6 separate regions of the Homo sapiens genome follow, and regions 2, 3, 4, 5 and 6 are each linked to region 1. The links are contacts of gene promoters, found by promoter capture Hi-C in blood cells and fetal thymus (Javierre and others, 2016). All regions are on one chromosome and are shown on one strand. The core of a region is centred on a gene start or on the middle of the fragment in contact, and the rest is flanking DNA. Distances in the headings are between cores, read along the strand shown.

Region 1 (4,577 bases), core at 2,076-4,575:
GTGACACATATCCCCTGCCTGAGGCTGTCCCACCAAGCACAAGGGCATCTTCTATCTGGTTGTACCTGCCGTGCACCCCACTCCTGCCTCTGTCCTGGAACATGAAACCTTGTCCACAACCTGTATCCTGTTCATTACCTTTCTCTCCTCCCTACTTGAATGTTAGCTCCAAGGAGCTGGTGACTGTGTCCTTCTTGATCACCCAGCACCCTGCCAAGTGCCAGACACAGAGTATGTGCTCACGAAACTCTGGGCAGCAAACGAACGGCCGTGCCAGAGCAGTGGGCACTGGAGAACTGTGCATGTGCAGCCAGCAGCAGGTCACAGTGAGGATGCCCTCACTCACCCAGTTCTCCGTCTTCCTGGCCCGACGCTCCAGCCCCTTCTGCAGGCGCTCCCCTACACCTCCTGAGGCCTGAAACTCATCCACCAGCTGCTTGGTGTGGGCCCACTCCTCCTCACTCACGATGGGCTGCAGCGCCTTCAGGTAGTGGTCCAGGGACTGCTGGAGAGGGGGCACGGGCAGCCGTGGCAGTGCATCCTGGTGTGCCTTGAAGCGGCTGGAAGCCTTCATCAAGGAGAAGGGCTTCAGGAAGCCCAGAGGCTTCACCTGCAGGTAGCAGAACATCCTGTTCATTCCCTCCCCGGCTCTGGAGCCCTGGCAGCCCCAAAGCTGTAGTCCTGGGCACTTAAGTGCCCATCCCTGGGGGCAGAGACGGCCTCTTGGGTGGGGCTGGCCCTGGCCTCCCAGCCCTAGAGCTCTAGGTGTCCCCGCCTCTCTGGGGCCTGGAGATGCAGGTAGGGATGGGGGAGGGTGGGGTGTGGCCATGGTTCTTAGCAAGGCTCAGGGGAACCAAGTCAGGATGAACGGCACCTTTGGGGTGGCAGAGGTGAGGGGGACCGCCCACCTGTTGGGTTGCACAGGCCCCTCCTTTCTCACCCTGGAAGAGGAGCCAGCCAGCAGAGTGGTGACTGTCCCTCTTGGAGGTCCCCACGTCCTTTTCTCCCACCCTTTCCAGGTTGAGAAACAGAAGGGAAGAAGAGAGAATCACAGAGAGCCAGACAATGGCAGCACCTTCGGGTGAGGGGCCTTGGGCTTCCTCCTGCCTTTGAGATGGGGCAGGGGTGGGGTGAGGGCAGTGCTGTGGCGAGAGAGCCGGGTGGCCTGGCATGGAGGGTGAGAGGCGGCAGAGAGAGAAAGAGAAAGTCCAGGAGGCCCTGGAGTGGGCAGAGACAGGAGGGCCCGAGGCTGCTCTTGCAGTGGGCAGGCGAGTGGCAGGAGCTCTGTTCCATACCTTCTCTCTCTGCTGCCCGTCCTCCTCCATGGCAGGACTGAGGTTCTGGGCCCTGTCTGTCTGCCTTGGCTGGATCTCTAAGCCTAACTGTGCTACAAAGTGAGTGAGCAGAACCTAGCCAGAGGCAGCCACTTGCCTGGGCTGGAAAGAGAAGACAAGAGCCAAGATTCAGCGGGAGGCAGGTGGCAGTGGCGATGGCTGTGGTGGAATCGGGGGTTGTGGCAGTGGCAGGGGAAGCTCCTGGACTCTAGAAGCTGCTCCACCCTCCCGAGCTCCCAGAAGTAGAGGAATGGGGAGCAGGTGAGAGGGCTAGTGGGGGGGCATTCCAGTAGAAGGGAACCTGGAAAGTTCTTTCCTTTCTTCTCTGCATGGGCTCAGTGCCAGGGAGTCAGGACAAAAGGTAATAAAAAATCCACCTGTCAGAATCTGCGAAGATCGTTTTGATGAGGGAAAACTTGGCTGGAGGACAGAGACTGCCTGGCCGCTGAGGTTACACCACAGCCCTGGGATCGGTCCTGAAATTAGGGTTGGTGCAAGGGAGCAGACACCAGGAAAAGGCCATCAGTGGATGGGACAGCCAGAAGCCCTGCCTATTTCCTGTTTCTCTCCAGGACTCCTGGGACCCATCTGAGCCATCCCTCTACGAACACTCATTTTTTCCTGAGCTGTGGCTCATTCAGCTAGGGTCCAAGAGCGGAGGACTTTTGGTATGAAAAATAAACCAAAGGACACTGGGATTGGGCTGGATTTGAATGAGCAGGTCCAGGGGACTCTGGGCAAGTCCCTCCTTGCCTCAGTTTCCCTGCAGGAAGGTAACCAGTCCAGTCGGATGGTCCTGGAGGATGATCTAGAGGCTGTTTGTGGGATGGATGCAGCTTGGGAGACAGTGACAAGGGTGCGGTGGAGGCTCAGGGTGTTGCAACACCTAAAAGAGCCTCTAGGCCTGAGCCTGGATGCACCCTCCGCCCTCTGGCCCCGTAGTGTGTGTCTGAGACAGAGTGAGACACCAGCAACATATGCTTGGATCAGGGACGGAAGGGACTGAAATTAGGCTAGCATCCGGGCTGCTCACCGGGGAGGACTGAGGGGTAGATATAGCCAGGGTGGGGAAGGGGGCTAGAGGGGAGGATATAGCCAGGGTGGGGAAGGGGGCTGGAGGGAAGGATACAGCCAGGGTGGGGAAGGGGGCTGGAGGGGAGGGAGACCATGGGGCTGCCACCTGCCAGTTCTGAGGCCTTTCTAGCTTGATGCCTCCGCGTGTTTCTCTGGCCACACACAATTCCCCAGGGACCGTCTGATAAACCAAAGGAGTGTGACCAACTGGACAGGGTCGGAGGAGTGGCTCTGGCCTAAGCGTGCGACGGGTGTGTCAATCGGAGAATAACTGGGAGAGTGAGCTAGGGTCTGGATGCTCCTGGTCTCTCTCCCCTACCGGCCTGTCTCTGGGTCTAAGGGTGGGGGTGCTAACTGAAGCCGGGGTCCCCCTTGTCTTTCCTGGGTCGTTGGAACTGAATGCTCCAGGACGTGGGTTTAATCCCGCTTCTGACCTTGCGCCCCAATCTCCTGCTCTGCCAAACCTGGGACGCCCGCCTGACCCCACCCCATCAGCTGGAGGCCGGGTCGAACAGCGGCCGCAGGACGCGGTCTCCGTTCCCGGACGCAACCGCACGGCCCGCCCAGGCCGTCCAGGGCCCTCAGGCCCGGGATCCGCCGCACTCACCACGGTCCTGGCAGCGAAGGCTAACATCTTCGCTGCCCGTCCGCGGACACGCAGTCCGCTCCGCCCCACACACCGGGCAAAGTCCGCGCCGCCGCCGCCGCGGCTGGGGTCGGTGGGTCCTTGCTAGAGCCTTCGGGCCAAGGTCGCTGAGTTACAGCCGCCAGCCGGTAGAGGCAGCCCCGCGCCCACCCTCTGGGCCGAGCGGGCTGCGGGAAGGCACCCGGGGAGGAGGACTCGCGAGGCGGGGCCTGGGCCGGTAGCGGGCCCCGGGCGGGCAACGGTGCCCGGGAGGTTGGCTGTGGGGCGGGGACGGGGCATCGATGGGGCGGAGTCTCCTTGAGGAGGGACAGGAGGGGCGGGGACGGAGGGGCGGGGCGTCGCCCGGTAGCGGGTCGCAGTAGGCTGGCTGCGAGTCGGGGGCGGGACCACGGCGGGCGGGGACAGAGGGGCAGGGCCGAGGGCGAGTCATTGAGACCTGTGGAGGAGGAAGGAGGAGGTCACCGTCCAGCTGTCTCTCCCCTGTCCCCACATGTCTTCTAAGCTGTTGGAGGTAGTGGTGTGCACCTTTCCAACTCCGTCTGGTGTCCTTGAGCCTAACTCTTAGAGTGATAGGAAAACACAACCATGTTGACCGGGGAATGTCCTCTAATATTCCTTGGGTTAGGGTCAGTACCACCCACAAAGATGACAGGTGGTACTCCGGGACAGGAGACTGTCCCGGAAAAACATGGCTGAGCACAACCCAAACTTGACGCCCCGCACAATCGTGGCAGTCGCGGCGCCCGACGTTCGGGCGGCCGTGAGCGGTCCTAGCGCTTGGCGGCCGTTGGCGCGCATGCGCCCCGCGCGCCCCGCACTGACATGGCCGTCGCCCGGTTCCGCGCGTCCGCCGCGCGCCGGCCGTTAATAGGCTTGCTCCCTGAGCGCCCCGCACCGACATGGCGGCCGTCTTCGCTGTGGTGACTTTAACTCTCGGTTTTCGGTTATAGCCGGCCGGCGCTCACTTGTCTTCAGGAAGCTCGGAGCCTTTGGTGGAGCCGGGGAGAGGAAGGGTGGGTGCAAGAGTGAAAGGCGAGAGGGGACTGCAAGCATCCGGGTCGGCTCCTGGCCGGAGCAAGATGGCTGAGGGCGAGCGGCAGCCGCCGCCAGGTAAGGCCGGCGGGGCCAGGCCGGGCCGGGGTCGGGTAGGGTGGGGGCGGTGCCAGGTGTGGGAGGCTCAGGAGGGCGAGAGTCATGACACGGAGGAACTGGAGGGGCAAAAGCTGAGGGGCCCCGAGGAGGGACTGAGTTGAATGGCCTTAGGGGAGAGGTGGGTGGTGGGGCGCCGCTGGGGAGGGAACCAGGGGCTGCAAAGGGGTGGTGATTGGGGCGCAACTCTGGGTTTTGTGGGAGTCCAGGCTGCCCGAATGCTGGGTGGGCAGCGCCGTGGTCATAAGGGGGCCTTTTGCATCTCTGGGCAGCGCGTGCTTAAGTAAGCTGCTGACTCGGTGGGGAAGCTGCCAGGGAGGGGGGCGAAAGTGATTCCGGAGGCTGCCGTCTTTATTAGTCGCTGCTTAGGGGAT
Region 2 (4,459 bases), core at 512-3,011, 520 kb after region 1:
GGCTTTGAGGTCAGGGAGCCGGCCAGTCCTGGGAAGGCCTTGGAGCGTGGCTGTGGGGAAGGGGCTTGCTCTTCTGTTGACAGGAAATAAGACAGGGCTGGATTTTTAGGCATACAGAGAGCTTGGATCAGAGCTGCCCCCTGGCGGAGGATTCCGGACACCCCCACCGATTGAAATTGCCCAGGATCAATCCCTTTGCTTAAAGACACAGAAAATGAAGCTTGGGAGAGGGGCTCAGACCAGGGGTAGCAGTTGTGACCTAGAATAGTCTAGAGGGTATGCCAAATAAGATGCACATACACACATCCTGCGGACTCAATGCAGAAGGGGCTTTTTAGCATCCCCTTTCTACCGTAGCTTTCAACACATTTAGAGCAAACACACTTTAAGCACCTTCTGTGTGCGTCGCCCAGAGGAAGGAACACCAGGATAGTATTATTATTATTTTATTTTTGAGACAGAGTTTCGTTCTTGTCACCCAGGCTGGAAAGCAATGGCGCGATCTAGGCTCATTGCAACTTCTGCCTCCTAGGTTCAGGCTATTCTCCTGCCTCAGCCTCAGAGTAGCTGGGACTACAGGCATGCACCACCATCCCTGGCTAATTTTGTATTTTTAGTAGAGACGGGGTTTTGCCATGTTGGCCAGGCTGGTCTCAAATTCCTGACCTCAGGTGATCCGCCTGCCTTGGCCTCCCAAAATGCTGGGATTAGAGTCGTGCACCACCGTGCCCTGCCAACACAAGGATATTATTAATAGTATAGGAAAAATGAACTTAAGATGGATATTGTCATTATAACAGCTTCCATTTCCTGAGAACCCACTGCAGGTGCTGAGCTGAAGGTCTGACGTGCAATGTCCCACAAGTTTAACCCTCTCAGAGCATCAGAAGTTGAGTAATTATTACGTTGCTCAACTTCCTCTTCTGACAGGAGACTGAAGCTCGGAAATGTTAACAGGCTCTACCCACCTGCAAGCTCCCGTTTCCATCACCGCTGCCTCGGAGATAGCTCCAGAATTTCTTTGCATGGGAGGAGCCTAGGGAAGGGCCACGCTTTTGGAATGGAAACGTCATGGGCTTGTTTTGCTCATTTCAGTGGGAATCCCATGGCACTGCCGAGAGTATTTCTTTTTATTTTATTTATTTTGGGGGGTCGGTATTATTTTAAGATGCTAATGGAGATGGGTGGATTTGAGGACCAATGGCTTTTTTTTCCCTTTTTACTCAAAGCCCGCACAACACACTCGTTTTTAGAAGTCCAGCCTGCAGCCTCCAAACGAACTGTTGTACGTGCTGGGGACGGGGAGAGGGCGACGCTGCGGCTCTTTTCCGTTCGGGAGGTCCTTCTAGATTCCCAAAAGTCAATTTAGTCAAGTTTTGAGCTGTAACCTGTGTTGGGCGCGGTGGCTCACGCATGTAATCCCAGCAGTCTGGAAGGCCGAGGTGGAAGCCTCGCTTGAGGCCAGGAGTTCAAGATCAGCCTGAGCAACAGGGTGAGACCCCGTCTCTAATTTTTTTTTTTTAAAGAAGTCAAATTAGGCCAGGTGCGGTGGCTCACGCCTATAATCCCAACACTTCGGAAGGCAGAGGCGGGCGGATCACTTGAAGTCAGGAGTTCGAGACCAGCCTGGCCAACATGGTGAAAACCCGTCTCTACTAAAAATACAAAAATTAGCTGGGTGTGGTAGCTCACGCCTGTAGTCCCAGGTACTCTGGAGGCTGACGCAGGAGAATCGCTGGAACCTGGGAGGCAGAGGTTGCGGTGAGCCGAGATCGCGCCACTGCACTCCAGCCTGCTTGACAGAGCAAGATTCTATCTCAAAAAAAAAAAAAAAAAAATTTAAATTATTTTTCAAAAGAAGTTAAGTTAAATCCGGAGCCCGCGCGGGGGAGGGGCGAGCTGAGCGAGGGGGTGGAGCCAGCCATGGGCCCGCCCCTAAACGCCCGGAAGTGACGTTGGCGGACAAAGGCAGCGCGCGCCGCGAGCTGTCGCGTCTGGTCGTGGTCTGGCGGAGCTGCGGTTGGCTTGTGGCGTCTCCGCCGCCGCCGCCCTCCCTTCCTCTTCCCCATCTTCTTCTCTCGGTCCCGGGAGCCCCCGCCCGGAGTGAGTAGCGCGAGGCGGTGCGAAGGGTAGGCAGCCGCTGGGAGAGGGGAGGCTGCGACCCCTAACTGTTTCGGCGCCCTGAGGTCCCGGGTCCCCGGCTCGTCACGTGACCCGGCGCGTGCGCGCGGGCCGGCACAGGCCTCACGTGCGCGTCCCCAAGAGGTCTACGGGCCGGACCTGGGCAGGGACTACGGAGCAGTCCATGGGTCGGGGTACAGGAGGAAAGTCAAGGCACTCAAAGCCCAGGCAGGGCACTCCCCCACCCCGGTCCCCAGACCGCAGCAAATCCCTTTCTCTGAGCCTGTTTCCCTTCCGAGAAACAGGGATATGGAGAGCGCCCACTTGGAGGATGGATGGGAGGAATCGGTAAAATCGGTAAAATGCCCAGTTCAGAGCCTGGCACAGTTAAGTGCCCGCTGCACAGAAGTTGCTGTCGTATTTAACCTTGGGTGCCACCCGAGCGCCAGCCCGACACAGGTGCAGCTCAAAAAAGACAGCCCGAGAGCCCTTGCGGCCAAGGTCAGCCTGTCTGCAGGGAGGCTGCCATATCGAAAAGCCCAGACTTTGCTGCGCACCAACTGTGTGATCTCTCCCTCTGGACTTTGGTTTCTCCTCTGTACTATAAGTGATTGCCACAACTGGTGTCAGAGGCCCTGACAGCGGGGAGGGACAGTGTAACCGGTGGTTGTGGTGTGTAGAATGATTGCCCAGTGAGATGGGATGAGCCTCTGGGAGGAACCAGGGCTGGTATAAGGAGCCTGGATTCCCTCCTTAATTCTGTTCTCGGCTTCCTGTTTGTATGTTTAAAGACACGTCACTTCCTTTAGTGTGCTGGTTTTTCTCTATGTAAACTGAGGACTGTGCGGGGGTTGGAAGGATGCATGGAGCGTTTTGGTGGAGGCCGGAAGCCCTAGGATCACAAGGATGGCATCTAAAAAATCTCGGTGGGGGTTCTGTGCTTATAGGCAGAGGAAGCTCACTCCCCACTCTGGCTGATTTGCAGAGCTGTTTGAGTCTGCTGGCTTGGCCGCCCAGCATACCAGTAACAGTCCCCTAGGTGTGTCCAATACAGCTTCTGTGGCATTCTAAGGCAGTTTTCCCATTTGATCCTCATAGTGGGCAGAGTTGACAAGAATCTCATTTGACAGAGATTTCTAAGCTCAAGAGAGAATATGTGCCCGGCACTGTGCAAAGCACTTTAAGCTTTTCATATGCACTTTTAATCACAGCCTTTCTGTAAAGTCGGTATTACTGTTCCATTTTATAGGTGAACTGAGGAATGGTGAGGTTTAATGTCTTGTCTGTGCTTACACAGCAGGTGTGCAGAGCCAAGATTCAGATCTGGTTCATCTGGCTCCATCAGAGCCTTTGTTAGTTTTTAAATGTATCCCCTGTTTTGTCTTCTTCCCTCCCTTTCTCACTTCCTTCTTTTTCTTAGAGCACTCTGCCGTTTGCATGTGGCCTGCTGCTGTCCACAAAGATCCAGGGAGGATGGACTCTGTCCACTAGGCTGCTAGAGGGTGGAGGTAACTTTTAGGCAGGCTTTTCCGTAGAGACTTACGTGAGGAGGATGAGATGACTGCAAAAGTCTGCCGGTGACAGTTTCAGCACTGTTTTCTTCCATGGGTCGTGGGAGAAGAGATGCAGTACCTTGGGTCTGAACACCTTGGCGGGGAGGAGGAGGCAGCAGCCAGGTGACTGTGAAGGATGTAGGATCACATTTACTGGCTGAGCAGCCATTTACCAGGCATGAGGGGTTTGTCTTCCTCTCTGAGCTAGCCTAGAGTGCACACAAAGCCCGTGTGCTCCTGGCCCCCTCCCAGGCCCTTCAGCCACATACGGCATCTGTGCTCTGGAGCAGAGTGTAGCAGGACCACCTGCTGTTGGCTGACTGACCTTGCTGTTCCCTCAGACTCTTAGGGACCTCCTCCTGCCCCACTCCAATCTGGACACCACGAGGCAAAATGTAGCCAGGACCCCAGGAATCCCGTTTATTAATGAATCAGCTGTTAGGGCAGATGTCAAAGTCAGGCTTGCTATTTCCCGGCCAGGATGTGCCTCCCCTGGCTTGTTCCCAGAATTTGCGTGTAAGTGGAATTCTTGTAAATTAGATTATTCAGGGGACCCTGACATTTAAAGGAATCATGTTACAAGGCTTTTGGTAAAGCACAGAATTATATTGTCGGTAGCAGCCTTCAGGCCTTCAGTATTTACCAGTTCTGAATGGTTGGACTTTTGTCTGTAGGATTTTCTTAGAGTGGAAAATGGCTATAGCTGCACAAAGCCCATTCTTGCATTATTTGGCAACCAGTTAGTCAATGCCCACCTGGTATCAGGCACTGGGCTAATGGTGTAC
Region 3 (4,299 bases), core at 1,190-3,689, 730 kb after region 1:
TTTAAACTCTGAGATTGCATGGGGGAAGGCAGCTGCAGATCATGCTGCCTGAAAAGAGAGGATCTGATTTCAGGCCCCAGAAATCATGATTTTCCTAGTTCTTAGTTTCCGCATCTCTAATGTGAGTTTTTTCTAAGGTTTCTAGTCTGAGCTTCGAGACTGAGTTTCTGCTCATGCTTACTCACCACTGAGTGTGAGGCTTTTAATGACCTGGGCCAGTGACTGGCTGCAGCCTAGGGTAGCCCCAAACCCACGCCTTCTCCAATTAAGGGACTCTTCCGGACAGAGCTCAGAGCAAAGGGTAGTAGCAGGCTTTGAGCTGCAGGGAGATACTGTCATATCCTAGACTGAAGGAAGTTAAGCTGAGCAGAAAAATGCTCTGAAGAATGACTCAGAAGAGGCTCTTGTGAGGAAGCTTCCTTGGAGTACGCGTGTTTGGATTTGGGGAGGTGAAGGTCGTCCCCATGCCAGGCTGGCCGGGGCTGTTTGTGACATCGTGGAGCTGAGTGTTCAGAGCATGGGCTTCAGGGCAGGTAGTCGTGGGTTCGAATTTTGGTTCTGCAGCTCAGTAGCTGTGTGACCTTAGCCAGTTATTCCACTTCTCTGAGCCTCGGTGTCTCCATTGTTAGTGATGGAGATGGATTTAGTTTGGAACCTTGCCACCTCCCAGGGTGGTTGTGAGGGTCCAGTGAGGTCACATGTGAGAACACCAGACTAAGATGTTAGTGTCAGTTCCAATATTCAGGGCCGTGGGGCAGGGGGAAGGGCGATGAGGAGACACAGAAGTGTGTGGGCAGCAGAGACTGTGGAAGTGTGGAGGCATGGGGAGGCCTGAGGGCTCTGCTTCGAGAGTCAGAGGATGGTGGCCTCCGAGTGAGGACTGGGTTAAGGGAAGGGGTGGGTGTGTCTGGGACTTAGGGAGAATGCTGTTGTGTGGAGGTAGAGTAAAGACAGCAGGAGGGAGAGAAAGGGTGTGCGAGGGCCAGAGGGGACTGTGGAGGGGGTGGGCACACACCCTGTGCGGGGCTGGGGGTGTGAGATGGCTAATGTGGTTGGGGTCAGCGTGGGCAGGGCTGTGGGCATCGTTGTGTGGGTGGGAGGCCCAGAAGTGTCGCCCTCCCCATCCTGAGGGACTGGTTCCTCGCTGGGAGGAGGAGGATGTAGCCAGAACCTCTGGGAAAACAATGAGTAACAGGCACCAGAGGCAGCCAGGTCCAGATGTGCTGCCTACCTAGGACCACAGGCTGTGCTGGCTGGTCCCTCCCCTGCCCTTCCTCAGGCCTTGCCCCTCCACTTTGCCCCTGTGGGTGGAGTGGCACTTTCCCCCACCCTGGAGGCCCAGGGAAGGAAAGCTGCCTTTATGAGCCTGAAGCATCTTGGAGGTCTCCTGGGGCCAGCAATGGTGGGCTCTTTGCCAAAAGTCTCAGGCCTTCCTCCCCCCATCCTGTGCTCTCCTGCCCCAAGAGAGGAGGCTCTGGTGGGCCGGGAGGGCGGGGCACACGCTGCACCTTGCTGACTTGTTGTACAGTAGGTCCTACTCTGCGTGGCTGCACCTGGAAGCACGTTCTTTCAGCTGCACAGGTGTCTTTCCCTTTTGGCCTTTATGAAATGCCTGCTGTGCACACTCCATATATTTGCACAGAGGCACAGGTGGGACGGAAAGAGTGGGGAAAGCAGACACAACCTGCTCGCTTCCTGCTGTGTTGCTTCCTGTCTGGGACCTTCCATTCCTCCTCTGTGAGATGAGAAACAGCCGCCCTTGCCCTAGAGAGTGGGTGAACAAAGCCCTGGGTACCAGGTCTGGAGGCTCAGTGGGTGCTGGGTCCTGGATCCTGCGATGGGGCTGCCTGTTCCAGAAAACCCGCTCCCTGCTCCCACCTCAAAGGTGAGAAAGGGAATCTATTTTTTTAAAAAGTCAAACTTAAGAAAAATTACAAGAATACAATGAACTCCCACATACCCCTCACCTAGATTCACGAATTAGTAACATTTGCCTTATTTACTCTAACTCTAATCTCTATAGTTATTGTCATAATTATTGCTGATTCAGGTAGGAGTAAGCTGCAGACATCACAGTCCTTTTCCCCTAAATATCCCAGCGGGAATTAACTAAGAATAAGGATATTATCATACATAACCAAAGCGTGAGTTCCACCTTTAGAAACTTTTTTTTTTTTTTTTTTTTTGAGATAGGGTCTTGCTCTTGTCACCCAGGCTGGAGTGCAGTGGCGCCATCTCAGCTCACTGCAACCTCCGCCTCCCAGGTTCAAGTGATTCTTCTACCTCAGCCTCCCGAGTAGCTGGGACTACAGGTGCCCACAACCATGCCCGGCTAATTTTTGTATTTTTAGTAGAGACGGGGTTTCACCACGTTGGCCAGGTTTGTCTCAAACTGCTGACCTCTGGTGATCCGCCAGCCTCAACCTCCCAAAGTGCTGGGATTACAGGCGTGAGCCATCACTCCCGGCCTAGAAACTTTCACATTGATGGAATCATGTATTTGTTTCCCAGACCTGCCATAACAAAGTACCACAGACTGGGTGGCTTAAACGACAGAGATTTATTTTCTCACAGTTCTGGAGGCTAGACGTCTCAGATCAAGGTGCCGACAGGTTTGGTTCTTCTGAAGGCCCTTTCCTTGGCCTGCAGATGGCCATCTTCTCACTGTGTCCTGGCTTGGTCTTTCCTCTGTGTGAGTCCGGATTTTCTCATCTCATAAAGATACCAGTAAGATTAGATTAGGGCCTGCCCTAAAGATCTTATTTTAACTTAATTACCTCTTTAAAGACATTATCTTCAAATATGATTACATTCTCAGGTCCTGGTGGTTAGAACTTCAGCATATGAATGGGGGAGAGAGAACAATTCAGTCCATAACAAATACTATGATCTAACAGGCAGTCCACACTCAGGCATGCTGGTTGTCCTGGGGATGTTCTTTGTGGCATCCCCCCACATTGACCCACAATCCAGCTTTGTTATGTCTCCTCAGTGTCTTGCCTGGAACAGTTTCTCAGCCTTGGTGGAGAAAGGGAACCTTCACGTTGCAGGGAAGCAAAGGTGCTCAGCAGGAATGGGGGTTCAGAAGCGCAGGCTGCCCCAGGACAGGGAAGCTGTTGAAGGGTTTGCTCTAGTCCATGAAGTTGCCTTTCCTGGCTTTTTCTTTGATGTCAAAAGCACCAGGAGGTGAGCTTAGATCTCAGGAAGCGCACCAAGAATCCGTGCATGAGTCCCCTGCGGTGTGTCTGACTCCATCACCATGGCGCCTGTTCGTTGCTGGGCTGGTTGGCCTGCAGAGCCCTGAGTGGTCTCATGGAGGGTGCCCTTCTGAGTGACCTTGAGCATGTGACTTCTATTCCTACCAATTTCAGTGTCCTAATGTATAGAACAGCCAGTGACACAAATTATAGTAGTAAACATTTTTTGAGCATTCTTGTCATGCAAATCAATAAAAAATCTGAGCCACCCAGAAAGTCCATGAGGCCCTAAGTCATTCAACTTAGCGTTTACTGTGCATTGGCTCACTTCATCTTCTCAGTAACCCTAGGTGCTGTCATTGTCCCCATTTTATGAATGTGGAGACTGAGCGATTTATCTAAAGTCACAGACTTGCAAGGGGCAGAGTGAGGTACTGAACCCAGGGCTACTTGTCCCTGTAATTTCCTTCCATAGTGACCGTTACCTCCCGGGATAATGTATGTGCAGCAGCTAACCCTCAGTGAGTGTAGGAAACAGAGGTGCTGGTGGTGATTATCACCTCCCTAGTGTCTGCTTGCAAGTACCCTGAGGTTGAAGTATGGGACTCTGTACACTACAAGAGCAGGGCCTATGCCTGGCTGTTTCCCAGCACCCCAAGTCACTGTTCCTAAGGAGGTACATGGTCAGTGTTGGTTGGGTACCAAAAGGAAGCAAAATGATAACTTTCAGACAGCTGAGATATGCACCCTCTTGTCGACCCCCATGCTTCCGATATTTTAGGTCCTGTGTGTGGAAGTTTTTTTTTTTTTTTTTAGACGGAGTCTTACTCTGTTGCCCAGGCTGGAGTGCAATGGCGTGATCTCGGCTCACTGCAACCTCTGCCTCCTGGGTTCAAGCGATTCTCCTGCCTCAGCCTCCTGAGTAGCTGGGCTTACAGGCATGTGCCACCACACCTGGCTAATTTTTTGTATTTTTAGTAGAGATGGGATTTCACCATGTTGGTCAGGCTGGTTTCGAACTCCTGACCTTGTGATCCACCCTCCTTAGCCTCCCAAAGTGCTGGGATTACAGCTGTGAGCCACCGCACCTGGCCCTTTGTGT
Region 4 (4,319 bases), core at 182-2,681, 530 kb after region 1:
GGCCTGGGACAGGAGAGAGGCTGAGGGTAGGCACAGCTGTGGGACCGGGTGACCGCGCAGCCTGTGGGTTGGTGGGCTTTAGTCCTGCTATCATCATCAGCAAGCAGGGCCCTGGCTCTGTGGGTCACAGGGGCTTGGGGGAAGCTCTGAAGTAGAGAGAGGGCCACGCTGCATCTCTTAATACGGGAGCAGACTGGGATTTGCGGAGAATGGGCTGGGTCTGTCTGCGCTCTCCTCCCGCGTTGCCCAGAGTCCGGTCGCAGACTTAGGTACAAAGCCTCACACACCTGGGCTGCTGGGACTGAAGGGACCACCAGCCTGGAGGCCAAGAGCCCAAGCCCGACTTTGATGCTTCTTCCTCAGAAAGCCCTTCCATCCTCAAACCCGCAGGACCCCAGCCCCGGCAACACCTGCAGCCAGGACAGCAACACAGCCTCCTCCCTCCCCTCACATTGAGACCTTCAGCTGATATTGATGAAGAAAGCCTACGTTTCCACCAGAGTCCCTGGATGGCGAGACTCATCATTACCACGTGTTGGAAATACCAACTGACAACCCCCTCAACACCTGAGCCGAGCCCCTTCCTTCTGCTCTCCCCTCCCTTCCACCTCGCGTGCCGCCGTACAATTACTTGTCAGTCTCTCCTCTGGAGCACATGCGCCAAGAAGGCGGGGGTTTTGCTGAGCCACTGATGGACCCCAGGTGCCTAGTACCATGGGCAGTGAATGCAGATTCGCTCCCGACCCCTTTCCTGCAGGTCCACGACAGACCAGCTCTTGTCTATAAAAACGCAAACTCTGCTACAAAAGCCCACCTTCACACTGCTCTGGGGTAACATCTGAGGCCTCACGGATTCCACCCTGCTCCTCTGCCACGCCGGGGGGTGGCACAGGACAGGCAGGCGACAGGGTGGGGCTGAGGCGCAGGCCCTGCGACAACCCGCGGGCCTCCGCCCTCGGGCCCTCCCCGCCCTTCGTCTCCGCCATGCAAGGGGCAGGAGTGGGATCCGCGCGGGGCAGCGCGCACTCCGAGCCACGCAACCCCGGCTTCCGCCCGTCCCTTCCTCTGTCAAGGGGGACGCATCCACCCCGCCCGGCTTGTGGTGATAAAGTGGGACGCTGCGGGGTCGGAGCGGCCTCGGCCAGCTCACGGGAGGGGGTGAGTTACCGGTCCAGAGACTCCTGCCGCTCGGGGTCCTGGATCCCCAGGGAGCCCAGAATCGCATCCACCAGCGGCTGGTACTCGAAGATGATCCTCCGGAAGCCGTGCAGGAACGGCATCGCCGCGGGCCCCGCGCAGCAGGGCCGTCGCGCTTTCTGCCGAGGCCGAGATGCCCAGACGCCGACCGGAACGCTCCGGCGGCCGCGGACCCCACCTGCTCCGCCAGTCCAGCCCCTGCGCCCGGCCGGGTCCGCTCCTCAGTCCAAGCCGCGCCCCCGCCGGAAGTGACCCTCGTACTTCCTGCCCGCGCCGACTCAGGGTGGGCCATATGGCGACAGCGCCCCCTGCGGGCTCGGAGGACCTCGGCGCGTCCTGGGGCACGACCGCCAGGCCGACTCGGGCGATGTCCAGTGGGCGGCCCCAGCGGAGTGGGAGAGTGGAGGATCGAGCCAAGCCAGATCCGAGACTCAGGCGGGTCCGCCCCTTCCTGCCAGGGCCCGGCCCGGCTCGGCTTCGCCCTGCGATCCCGCCCGCGACCGCTGGGCGCCGTCCGAGTTCCGCCGGTCGTGCTCTCGGCCCTGCCGCTGCCCCACTGGCCCTGGGCGCCCCTGAGAGCTGTGGTCATCAGACACTGCCCCTTCCGGTTCGGGCTGGCCCTCGCCTTCCCTGAAGAGGGGCTGGGCCACCTCTGTCACCACCCGGCCCGCTGACTGGAATGATGAGGACCAGGGTACTCGCACGTCCCCTCCTCAGTTTCTTATTCTCTGTCCCGGGGAGCACCTGGCCAGGACGGCTGCTAGCCCTCTCCACCTCTGCCTTGATGGACTCAGTGAATCTTGTTTTTTGTTGTTGTTGTTTTTGTTTTTTTGGGGGACGTAGTCTCGCTCTGTTGCCCAGGCTGGAGTGCAATGGCACGATCTCGGCTCACTGCAACCTCCGCCTCCCGGGTTCAAGCGATTCTCCTGCCTCAGCCTCCCGAGTAGCTGGGATTACAGGCGCTGGCCACCACGCCCAGCTTATTCTTGTATTTTTAGTAGAGACAGGGTTTCACCATATTGGCCAGGCTGGTCTCGAACTCCTGACCTCGTGATCCTCCCACCTCGGCCTCCCAAAGTGCTGGGATTACAGGCATGAGCCACGGTGCCCAGCCCGAATCTTGTGTATTTTTTAGAGACAGGGTCTCACTCTGTCTCCCAGGCTGGAGTGTAGTGTAGTGATCATGACTCACTGCAGCTTTGAACCCCTGGGCTCAGGTGATCCTCCCGCCTCAGCCTCCCGAGAAGCTGGGAACACAGGAGTGTGCTACCGCCTGTCTCTGAACTTGGATTTCCTCATCTGTAAAATGGGTAGAATCCCCAGCACTTTGAGAGGCCGAGGCAGGTGGATCACCTGAGGTCAGAAGTTCGAAGCTGCAGACCGGCCTGGCCAATATGATGAAACCCTGTCTCTACTAAAAATACAAAAATTACCCGGGCGTGGTGGCAGGCGCCTGTAATCCCAGCTACTTGGGAGGCTGAGGCAGGAGAATTGCTTGAACCCGGGAGGCGGAGGTTGCAGTGAGTGGAGATCGCACCATCACACTCCAGCCTGGGCAATAAGAACGAAACTCTGTCTCAAAAAGAAAAAAAAAAAGTATAATCACACTCACCTGAGATGCTGGAGCCAGCGCACTGTAATTGTTGGTGGAAGTGGAATTCAGTGGGAAGGAGCCAAAACCCTCTGGTTCAGGAAGAAGGGGCGGAGTGGGCAGCCGGGTTTAAGCCCCTTTAGGGCAACACCAGCTTGGGCTTCCTAGAAGCAGCTCCAGGCCGCAGAGTCCACAGCTGCCAGCACGTTTCTGCCTTGGTTCTCGCTGTAGGAAAGAAATTTCTCCCTGGGTGAAATCGGGAAATTCTGCTCACATGGAAATGGACATTTCCAGCTTGCCTTGGAAAAACCACTTTTCTGGAGTCGAGGCACCTCCCCTTGGGCCATGCATTTGAGCCTCCTCTCCCACCTGGAGTCTGCGTGGGGGGGCCTTGATGCCTTCTTGCTTCTGGGAAGCTGATGATGAAGAGGGGTTTCCCGCCCCAGCAGTCCACATCACAGCGTTGGCCTCCTGGGCCTTGCTCTGCCAAGTTGGGCCCCTCTCCCTGGAACCTGCCAGACAGCGAGAGTTGCCCAGCCCAGGAAAAAAACATTTAAAGGCGCATTTCAAGACAATCCGATGGGTCTTAGAGTAAACATTTTTATATTTATTTATTTATTATTATTATTATTATTATTTTTCAGACGGAGTCTCACTCTGTTGCCTAAGCTGGAGTGCAGTGGCAGGATCTCGGCTCACTGCAACCTCCAACCCCTGGGTTCAAGCCTACCAGGTAGCTGGAATTACAGGCATGCGCTACCACGCCAGGCTAATTTTTGTATTTTTAGTAGAGACGGGGTTTCACCATGTTGGCCAGGCTATTCTCGAACTCCTGACCTCAGGTGATCCACCCGCCTCAGCCTCCCAAAGTACTGGGCTTACAGACGTGAGCCCACCACGCCCAGCCAGATGAAACATTTTTAAATGGGCAGAGTAAGGCCCTCTACCATGTGCAAAACAAACTGTACAAGAAAACCCAAAGCAACGAGCCTCAACCGGCAAGGTTGAGGGTGTGGCAGCAGCGGCTGGTAACTGCTGGCTCTGGTTGTTAAAGCTGTTGTCAGATCCAATGACAGGCTCTCGGAAAACCACCTCCGACGCCAGGCATTCAGAGTGCCTCAGTTTGCTTCCTCTTCCATTACCTAAAGGAGTAGGAAGGAGGGGTGGGGGTGGGCAGCTGGGTTCAAGACCCTTTAAGGCAACACTAGCTTGGGCGTCCCAGAAGCAACTGCAGACTACGAGGGCCCACGGCTCCCCACACATGTCTGCCTTGATTCTTGCTGAGGGAAAGAAGTATCTTCCTGAGGGAAATCGGGACATTTTGCTCCCAGGGAAATGGAGATTTTCCAACTTGCCTTGTAAAAATCAGAAGGGCCCAGATTCTTACCAGACAGCGATTTGCATCCAGATGGGGTGCTTGCCCTGGGTGCACCTGCCTGGGCATGACTCTGAGCGTTTGGAAGTGTCTGCCCCTGCTTGAAGGGTCCCCCTCAATGGATCGCGAGGCCCTGAACGGTACAGCCGCTCTCAG
Region 5 (4,479 bases), core at 1,570-4,069, 620 kb after region 1:
ATAAAGACTAGAGTTTCTGGTCCTGTGACCCTGGACAAGGCACTTCTCGGGGACTTGGTTTCCTTGTCTGTAAAATGGGGATAATTACAGAACCCACTGCATAGGGTTGTTGGCACAAAGTTCCCGCCCATAAATGGGTGCCTCAGTGTTTACGGTGGAGGAGCACAGGGTGAGGGATGGAGTTTGAGAAAATATACGTACTCCCCTTCCTGGGGTGAAATGGCACTTTCTCTGTCCAGAGACCCGGCATACCCGGTCCAGAGGCTCTTCCCCCGTTCCTTTGATGTCCACTAGCCTTAGGAGCCCCAGCTGGGGACCCAAATCAACTTGGTACCTCCGGCTCCTGCACCTCTGCTTCTCGCCCCTGGGGGGCGCCGTGGGGCCGCTGCAGGGCCCTGGACTGGGTTCCCGCGATGTGGCCGCACACACCCCATCCTCTCCGCTCTCCTGGGAGATCTCCAGGGCTGGCAACGGGCTCCTGACCCAGCCTCCTCTGGAAAGACAAAGAAACAAGCAAATCCCAAACCACCAGCAGGGGTTACAGCGTTTACAGAAGCCTTAGGAAACAGGAACCAACAGCCGTGAAGATATTCACATGCTTTCCCCCAGCAAACCCGTCTCTAAGCTCTACTTTGAAAAATAATCAAAATCTCAAAATCGGGGGGCGGGGGAAGCAATGTGCACATCAGTGTTTATCACATATTTTATACGTGCAATGTAAAAAATCTGGAAAGACACAAGCCAAAATGTGAGTAGCTTAATTTTTTTTTTTTTTTTTTTTTTGAGACTGAGTCTCACTCTGTCACCCAGGCTGGAGTATGGCACAACCTCGGCTCACTGCAACCTCCACCTCCCTGGTTCAATTGGTTCTACTGCCACAGGCTCTCGAGTAGCTGGGACTACAGGCCTGCGCCACTATACCCAACTAACTTTTTGTATTTTTAGTAGAGACAGGGTTTCACCATGTTGGCCAGGCTCGTCTCAAACTCCTGACCTCAGGCAATCCACCTGCCCGGGCCTCCCAAAGTGCTGGGATTATAGGGCTGAGCCGCTCTGCCAGGCCAATTAGCTTAAATTTTATGGTGACTCACAATCCACGAGTCTCCATATTTTTAAAATAACTTTATAGAAAAAACAATCTTTAAAAAGAAAGCAGGCCAATGTAACAGCCTCGAGTACATAATAAGGTCTTCAAAGGTTAAAAAAAAATGTGCTTTTGGCTGGGACTGGTGGCTCACACCTGTAATCCCAACACTTTGGGAGGCCGAGGCGGGCGGATAACGAGGTCAGGATTTTGAGACCAGCCTGGCCAGCATGGTGAAACCTCGTCTCTACTAAAAATACAAAAATTAGCCAGGCGTGGTGGCGCACACCTGTAGTCCCAGCTACTCAGGAGGCTGAGGCAGGAGAATTGCTTGAATCCGGGAGGCGGAGGTTGCAGTGAACTGAGATCATGCCACTGTACTCCAGCCTGGGTGACAGAGTGAGACTCCGTCTCAAAAAAAAAAAAAGTGCTTTCTTCCCTGTGTTTTGTGTCCCCCTGGTGCCTCACACAGAGCTAGATGTGTCCTCTGGATACTTGCTGGTCAGTGGAGGTACTGGAAACAGTGTGTTTGAGAACATCTGTCTCCCAGGCTGGAGTGCAGTGGTGAGATCCTTGCTCACTATAACCTCAAACTCTTGGACTCAAGTGATTCTCCCGCTCTGGCCTCTCCAACTGCTGGGATTACAGGTGTGAGCCACTGCGTAATGGCTCTCCAAGAACTTCTTAATTCTTAGTTCACACCTTAGAAAAAGTGGGAATGGATTGAGCTTGGGATATAAGGCAGTCAGGAATGAGCACCTTGAAATCAGAAGGGGGACTCAAAAGAGAGACGGTGTGGCAGATACAATTCTAACATGGCCCTGCCAGCCGGGCGCAGTGGCTCACACCTGTAATCCCAGCACTTTGGGAGGCCGAGGCAGGCAGATCACCTGAGGTCAGGAGTTTGAGACCAGCCTGGCCAACATGGCATCTCTACTAAAAATACAAAAAATTAGCCGGGCACAGTGGCGCACACCTGTAATCTCAGCACTTTGGGAGGCCAAGGCAGGCAGATCACCTGAGGTCAGGAGTTTGAGATCAGCCTGGCCAACATGGCATCTCTACTAAAAATACAAAAAATTAGCCAGGCGTGGTGGCACACACCTGTAATCCCAGCTACTCGATAGGCTGAGGCAGAAGAATCGCTTGAACCCGGGAGGTGGAGGTTGCAGTGAGCCAAGATCACACCACTGAACTCCAGCCTGCACTGCAGAGCAAGACTCCGTCTCAAAAAAAAAAAAAAAAAAAAAAGATGGCCCTGTGATTCCCACCCCAGGTAGTCCCACCTTTGTGTAATCCCTTCTCCTTGAGCGGAAACTGTGGCTTGTTTCTGACAAATAGAGTGCGGCAAAGGTGAAAGGATTTTTCAGATGTAATTAAGGTCTCCACTCAGTTGACGCTGATGTAAGCAAAAGGAAGATTCTCCCTGGTGGGCCTGACCTAATCAGGCGAGCCTTTTGAAAGATCCAGGTTGTCCCTGAAAGAAGAGATTCCAAGCAGACAGCCACTTTCCTGCTGAGCTGGAAGACGCAAACAGCTATGCTGTGAAGTGCCTGCGGAGGGGGAGGCCGCCAGGAGCTGAGGGCTTCAGTTTCAGAACCACAAGGAGCCCAATTCTGCCTACAATTCAAACAAGCTTAGAAGAAGACACTGAGCTTCAAGTGAGACTCAGCCTGGATGACACCTCGATTGCAGCCCTGGGAGGTCCTGAGCACAGCACCAAGCTGAGCCTCGCCCAGACTCCTGACCTACAGGAACTGTATGATCGTAAGCGTGTATAGTTTTAAACTGGCAACTTGTTACACAGCCATAAAAAACTAACACAGGTGGGAATGAAGCTTGAAAGTTTACCTTGGCTGGTGCGGTAGCTCACACCTGTAATCCCAGCACTTTGGGAGGCCGAGACGGGAGTATCACCTGAGGGTCAGGAGTTGGAGACCAGCCTGGCCAATAAGGTGAAACCCCGTCTCTACTAAAAATACAAAAATTGGCCAGGCGTGGTGGTGCACACCTGTAATCCCAGCTTCTCCAGAGGCTGAGACAGGAGAATTGCTTGAACCCGGGGGGGCAGAGGTTATAGTGAGCCGAGATTGCCCCATTGCATTCTTGCCTGGGCGACAGAGCAAGACTCTGTCTCCCCCCCGCAAAAAAAAAAAAAAAAAAAAGAAAGAAAGAAAAGAAAGTTCACCTTGAGCTTGGCCTCCCTTGGCCCACGGGACACCCAGGGAACCCCCAGACCTGCCACAGAGCAGACTGGATGGTAGGCCCCTGCTCTAATTACCTGCCAGTCCACAGTAAACAGCCTCTTGTCTTATTTATCTCCTTCCTGGCCATTCTGCACAGTCAACAGGCCAGTTGTCTAAAACACAGCCTTGATCACGGATCATGTCTCTTCCCTGCCTAGAGCCTCCCTTGGCTCCCCAGGGCCCTTGCAGCAAAGATCAATCACCCAGGCCAGGTGTCTACAGTGCCACCATCCAACCTTAACCCCGCCTCGTCCCTACCCAGATTTTTTTTTTTTTTTGAGACAGAGTTTCGCTCTTGTCACCCAGGCTGGAGTGCAATGGCACAATCTCGGCTCACTGCAATCGCCACCTCCCAAGTTCAAGCGATTGTCCTGCCTCAGCCTCCTGAGTAGCTGGGACTACAGGCACCTGCCACCACGCCTGATTCATTTTGTATTTTTAGTAGGGACAAGGTTTCACCATGTTGGCCAGGCTGGTCACAAACTCCTGGCCTCAGGTGATCCGCCCGCCTCAGCCTCCCAAAGTGCTGGGATTACAGGCGTGAGCTGCTGCACCTGGCCAGATTCTTCAGACAATCCTAACAATTCGGTCCCCTCTTTCCATTGTATCCCTCCTCCCTGTCTCCCTGTAGCAACAGCTTCCCATCCAACCCCTTTGCCAGCAAAAATCCACTCCAATGAGGTTACAATGTAGTGTCACCTTTTAAATTTTTTTTTATTTATTATTATTATTATTTTGAGACATGGCCTCACTCTGTCACCCAGGCTGAAGTGCAGTGGCATGATCTGGGCTCACTGCAACCTCCGCCTCCTGCCTCAGCCTCGCAAGTACCTGGGACTACAGGCATGCGCCACCACACCCAGCTAATTTTTGTATTTATTTTTCGAGATGGGGTTTCACTATGTTGCCCAGTCTGGTTTCGAACTCCAGTCTCAAATGATCCACCCACCTGGGCCTCCCAAAGTGCTGGGATTACAGGCGTGAGCCACTGCGCCTGGCCAAGTTCAATTCTGGACAGTCAGCAAACATAATAAAAAATATATATAACTCCGTGTTATAATTTTATATTTGGAAAATGGAAAAAAAAAGCCCTAGTTTCATAATTCAAACTTCTAAAAGTGAAGCTACTCAAACTCTTCTTGGCTGGTG
Region 6 (4,071 bases), core at 1,112-3,611, 670 kb after region 1:
CCCTGTCTCTACTAAAAATACAAAAATTAGCTAGGCATGGTGGCAGGTGCCTGTAATCCCAGCTACTCGAGAGGCTGAGGCAGGAGAATTGTTTGAACCTGGGAGGCGGAGGTTGCAGTGAGCTGAGATTGCGCCACTGCACTCCAGTCTGGGTGACAGAATGAGATCCCATCTCGAAAAAGAAATGAAAAGCAAAGCAAGACGGTATGGGTATTGTGGTTTTGGAAGAGCTCTCCTTAATCTTAGGAGATACATGATGAAGGGTGTAGGGGTGACATTTAAAAATGTCTGCAAAGTGCTTTGAAATAGGTCAGTTAAAAAAAACAAAAAAGAGAGGCCAGGTGTGGTGTGGCTCACACCTGTAATACGAGCACTTTGGGAGGCCAAGGTGGGAGGATCACTTGAGCCCAAGAGTTTAAGACCAGCCTGGTCAACATAATGAGACCAAACTCTAGAAAAAATGCAAAAATTAGTTGGGTGTGGTGTTGCATGCCTGTAGTCTCAGCTACTTGGGAGGCTGAGGTGGGAGGAACGCTTGAGCCTAGGAGGTTGAGGCTGCAGTGTACAAAGATTCCGCCACTGTACCCCAGCCTAGACAACAGAGCAGGACGCTGTCTCAGAAAGAGAGATCATATTGGGATGATGAAAATATTTTAAAACTGACTTATGTTGGTGGTTACACCATAGTAGGTTGGTAAATTGACTATGATGATGTGGTAAAATCCCTAAATTGCACACTTAAAAGGGTAAATTATGATATGGAAAATATGCCTCAATAATGCTACTTGAGACATTCACTGGATTAGACCAAATTGACCGATTTATTTATTTATTTAAGACGGAGTCTCTGTCACTCAGGCTGGAGTGCAACGGTGTGATCTCAGCTCGCTGCAACCTTCGCCTTCTGGGTTCAAGAGATTCTCCTGCCTCAGCCTCTCGAGTAGCTGGATTACAGGCTCATGCTACTATGACCACTTAATTTTTGTATTTTTAGTAGAGATGGGGTTTCATCGTGTTGGCCAGGCTGGTCCTGAACTCCTGACCTCAAGTGATCTGCCCACCTTGGCCTCTCAAAGTGCTGGGATTATAGGTGTAAGCAACCATGCCCCGCCTATTCTTTTTTCTTTTTTTCTTTTTTCTTTTTCTTTTTTTTTTTTTTTTTTGAGACAAAGTCTCACTCTGTCACCCAGGTTGTAGAGCAGTGGCATGATCTCAGCTCACTGCAGCCTTGGTCTCCCAGGCTCAAGTAATCCTCCCATCTCAGCCTCCTGAGTAGCCTGGGACTACATCCTGAGTAGCTGGGACTACGGACACACCACCATGCCCAGCTACTTTTTAAATTTTTCATAGAGACAGGGTCTCACTATGTTGTCCTGGGTAGTCTCAAACTCCTGGACTCAAGTGATACTCCCACCTCGGCCTCCCAAAGTGCTGGGATTACAAGAATGAGCCACCACGCCCAGCCCTGATTTTTTTGTTGTTGTTCATTCCAAACAATTTTAAGTTTATCCCTGTGCTGGCCCTGGGATATGAGCGAGATAACCACCACCCCTTCCCAGAGGAATGCACAGCCCAGTCTAGGCAGAGCAAATACATGGTGAGGATTCTAGGGCCAAGAAGAGGGCAGGGATAAGATCACATGAGCTTAAGTTATGGGGCCCTGCGTGCCTGCTGGAGATAGGATAGTGTTCTCACTCTGTTGCCCAGGGTGGGTGCAGTAGTGCGGTCACAGCTCACTGCACCCTTGAACTCCTGGGCTCAAAGGATCCTCCCACCTTAGCCTCCCAAATAGCTGGGACTACAGGCTAGGTAATGTTATTATCATCCCTACTTTACAGATCAGAAAACCGAAGCCTAGAAAGGCTAAGACCATCACCCAGGGTCACAGAGCTGATCAGGAGCAGAGCCAGAAGATGGACTCAGGGCCTTTATGCCAAAGCCCAGGCATTCAGACTAACACGAATCATTCCAGCCTCCAGAAGGTGCACACGCCTCTGGTTGGTTCAGTGAACAGGGGTGGAATGATATCAATCAGACAAAGGGAAAGGGTCTGGGCATGGCGGTTCACATCTGTAATCCCAGCACTTCGGGAGGCCGAGGTGGGTGGATCACCTGACCTCAGAAGTTTGAGACCAGCCTGGTCAACATGGTGAAACCCCGTCTCTACTAAAAAATACAAAAATTAGCTGGGCGTGGTGTCATGCGCCTGTAATTCCAGCTACTTGAGAGGCTGAGGCAGGAGAATCGTTTGAACCCTGGAGGCTGAGGTTGCAGTGAGCCGAGATCACGCCACTGCACTCCAGCCTGGGCGACAGAGCGAGACTCCATCTCAAAAACAAAACAAAACAAAACAAAAAACCCAAAGGGATAGAAACTGGAATTTCCCTGAACCCCTGTTGGCATCTGTTTTAATGCTTAACAACTGCATCTCGGGTAACTTAGGAGACTAGAAAATAGGTATTTTGGCCGGGTGCGGTGGCTCACGCCTGTAATCCCAGCACTTTGGGAGGCCGAGGCGGGCGGATCACGAGGTCAGGAGATCGAGACCATCCTGGCTAACACGGTGAAACCCCGTCTCTACTAAAAATACAAAAAATTAGCCAGGCATGGTGGTGGGTGCCTGTAGTTCCAGCTACTCGGGAGGCTGAGGCAGGAGAATGGCGAGAACCCGGGAGGTGGAGCTTACAGTGAGCCAAGATTGCGCCACTGCACTCCAGCCTGGGCAGCAGAGCGAGACTCTGTCTCAAAAAAAAAAAAAAAAAAGGAAAAAAAAAAGAAAATAGGTACTTTACCAATACCTGTGAATGGTATTGAATGATATTGCTACTTTAACTAGGGGTTCTTTTGTTACCTGACTCCTGTTTTTCTTTTTCATTTTCTTTTTTTCAAGACAGTTTCACTCTGTTGTCCAGGCTGGAGTGGCACGATTGTGGATCACTGCAGCCTCAAACTCCTGGGTTCAAATGAATCTTCTGCCTCAGCCTCCAGAGTAGCTGGGACTACAGGCACCATGCCACCAGGCCCAGGTAATATTTTATTTTTTGTAGAGACAGGGGTCTTGCTATGTTGCCCAGGCTGGTCTCGAACTCCTGGACTCAAGCAATATGCCCTCCTCAGCCCCACAAAGTGCTGGGATTACCGGCGTGAGCCACCGCACCCAGCTGTGACTGCTGTTTTTCTACCTTTACCTGTCTCTCATGTTCTCAAGTAAATTATCATCCTCTGTTTCTTGCAAAAACTGATTCTTCCTTGTGTCAAGTTGCTAGAAGGATCCCACAGCCCTCCCTCGGGTCTCCCCATTTCTAACCCGTAGTACTGGCCCCATCTAGTGGTTAGATTAGGGAAGTACCCCAGGCTCCCTCGGCCAAGCCCCTGGCGAGGCACGGTTGGGGAGAAATGGATGCTTTCTAGCCCTTCTCTCACCGGCAAAAATAGCAACACTCTTCAGGTTACCAAAGGCCAGATTCTCCTGATGTGTGTAAGCTATCCCTCTAGAGACCATCTTAACTTTTTCATTTAATTATCAACTATTTCATCAAAGATAGAGGAGAGAACATACTCTCCACCCAGATTTAGCAGAGATTACATTTTGCATTTTACTATATTTGCTTCAAATCTCTTTTTTTTTTTTTTTTTTGAGAGAGGGTCTCGCTTTATTGCCCAGGATGGAGTGCAGTGGTGCCATCACAGCTCACTGCAACCTCAACCTCCCGGGCTCAAGCAGTCCTCCCACCTCAACTTCCCGAGTAGCTGGGACTATAGGCGCGCAACACCATACCCAGCTAATTTTTGTATTTTTTGTAGAGACAGGGTCTTGTTACGTTGCCCAGGCTGGGCTTGAACTCCTGGACTCAAGTGATCCTCCTGCCTCAGCCTCCCAAAGTGCTGGGATTACAGGCATGAGCCACCGTGCCTGGCCTAGATCTCTATATCTTTAATAAAACTAAAACTTCAAGCCCCATCACTTTGGGATTCCTCTCCAAAAGTTATCTCCATGTCTAAGTTGAAGTATATCAATTCCTTTTTTTAAAAAATTTTGTCACTCTCAGGATATGCTTAAATATCAGTTCC

Evidence for each region. The method cuts DNA at HindIII sites, captures the fragments that hold promoters and counts their contacts. A CHiCAGO score of 5 or more calls a contact.
Region 2: a fragment that was not itself captured here is called in contact with the fragment with the promoter of CRAT in region 1 in 17 of 17 cell types (M0 macrophages, naive CD8 T cells, M2 macrophages and 14 more); the score reaches 16.7 in M0 macrophages.
Region 3: a contact is called between a fragment that was not itself captured here and the fragment with the promoter of CRAT in region 1, in 1 of 17 cell types (naive B cells). The highest score is 5.1, in naive B cells.
Region 4: the fragment with the promoter of ASB6 here is called in contact with the fragment with the promoter of CRAT in region 1 in 2 of 17 cell types (neutrophils and monocytes); the score reaches 6.1 in neutrophils.
Region 5: a fragment that was not itself captured here is called in contact with the fragment with the promoter of CRAT in region 1 in 5 of 17 cell types (M1 macrophages, activated CD4 T cells, M0 macrophages and 2 more); the score reaches 7.7 in M1 macrophages.
Region 6: a fragment that was not itself captured here is called in contact with the fragment with the promoter of CRAT in region 1 in 5 of 17 cell types (naive B cells, total B cells, naive CD4 T cells and 2 more); the score reaches 6.1 in naive B cells.

What each region holds. Positions count from the first base shown.
Region 1 is chr9:129,107,468-129,112,044 of GRCh38, forward strand. CRAT (carnitine O-acetyltransferase) reads right to left here and starts at 3,326. Exons shown (of 14, transcript NM_000755.5): 1 at 3,016-3,326; 2 at 347-610. The coding sequence starts at 3,042. PTPA (protein phosphatase 2 phosphatase activator) reads left to right here and starts at 3,948. Exons shown (of 10, transcript NM_178000.3): 1 at 3,948-4,164. The coding sequence starts at 4,134. RefSeq lists silencers at 3,082-3,521, 4,212-4,261 and enhancers at 3,932-4,211, 4,144-4,577. The HindIII fragment of the contact is 8,818 bases long and covers 1-4,577 here.
Region 2 is chr9:129,624,193-129,628,651 of GRCh38, forward strand. NTMT1 (N-terminal Xaa-Pro-Lys N-methyltransferase 1) reads left to right here and starts at 1,971. Exons shown (of 4, transcript NM_014064.4): 1 at 1,971-2,103. RefSeq lists enhancers at 1-31, 42-91, 1,944-2,482 and a silencer at 2,096-2,335. The HindIII fragment of the contact is 3,086 bases long and covers 219-3,304 here.
Region 3 is chr9:129,838,602-129,842,900 of GRCh38, forward strand. All of the region lies in intron 1 of USP20 (ubiquitin specific peptidase 20), which reads left to right. Among named protein-coding and RNA genes, the nearest start is that of USP20, 5.3 kb to the left of the region's middle. RefSeq lists an enhancer at 800-1,300. The HindIII fragment of the contact is 4,052 bases long and covers 414-4,299 here.
Region 4 is chr9:129,640,720-129,645,038 of GRCh38, forward strand. ASB6 (ankyrin repeat and SOCS box containing 6) reads right to left here and starts at 1,432. Exons shown (of 6, transcript NM_017873.4): 1 at 1,168-1,432; 2 at 1-3. The coding sequence starts at 1,280. RefSeq lists an enhancer at 1-492 and a silencer at 1,199-1,798. The HindIII fragment of the contact is 16,646 bases long and covers 1-4,319 here.
Region 5 is chr9:129,726,415-129,730,893 of GRCh38, forward strand. LOC124902284 (a long non-coding RNA gene) reads right to left here and starts at 453. Exons shown (of 2, transcript XR_007061815.1): 1 at 335-453. RefSeq lists a silencer at 337-530. The HindIII fragment of the contact is 202 bases long and covers 2,719-2,920 here.
Region 6 is chr9:129,780,614-129,784,684 of GRCh38, forward strand. No RefSeq gene overlaps it. Among named protein-coding and RNA genes, the nearest start is that of TOR1B, 21 kb to the right of the region's middle. RefSeq lists an enhancer at 1,081-1,581. The HindIII fragment of the contact is 8,751 bases long and covers 1-4,071 here.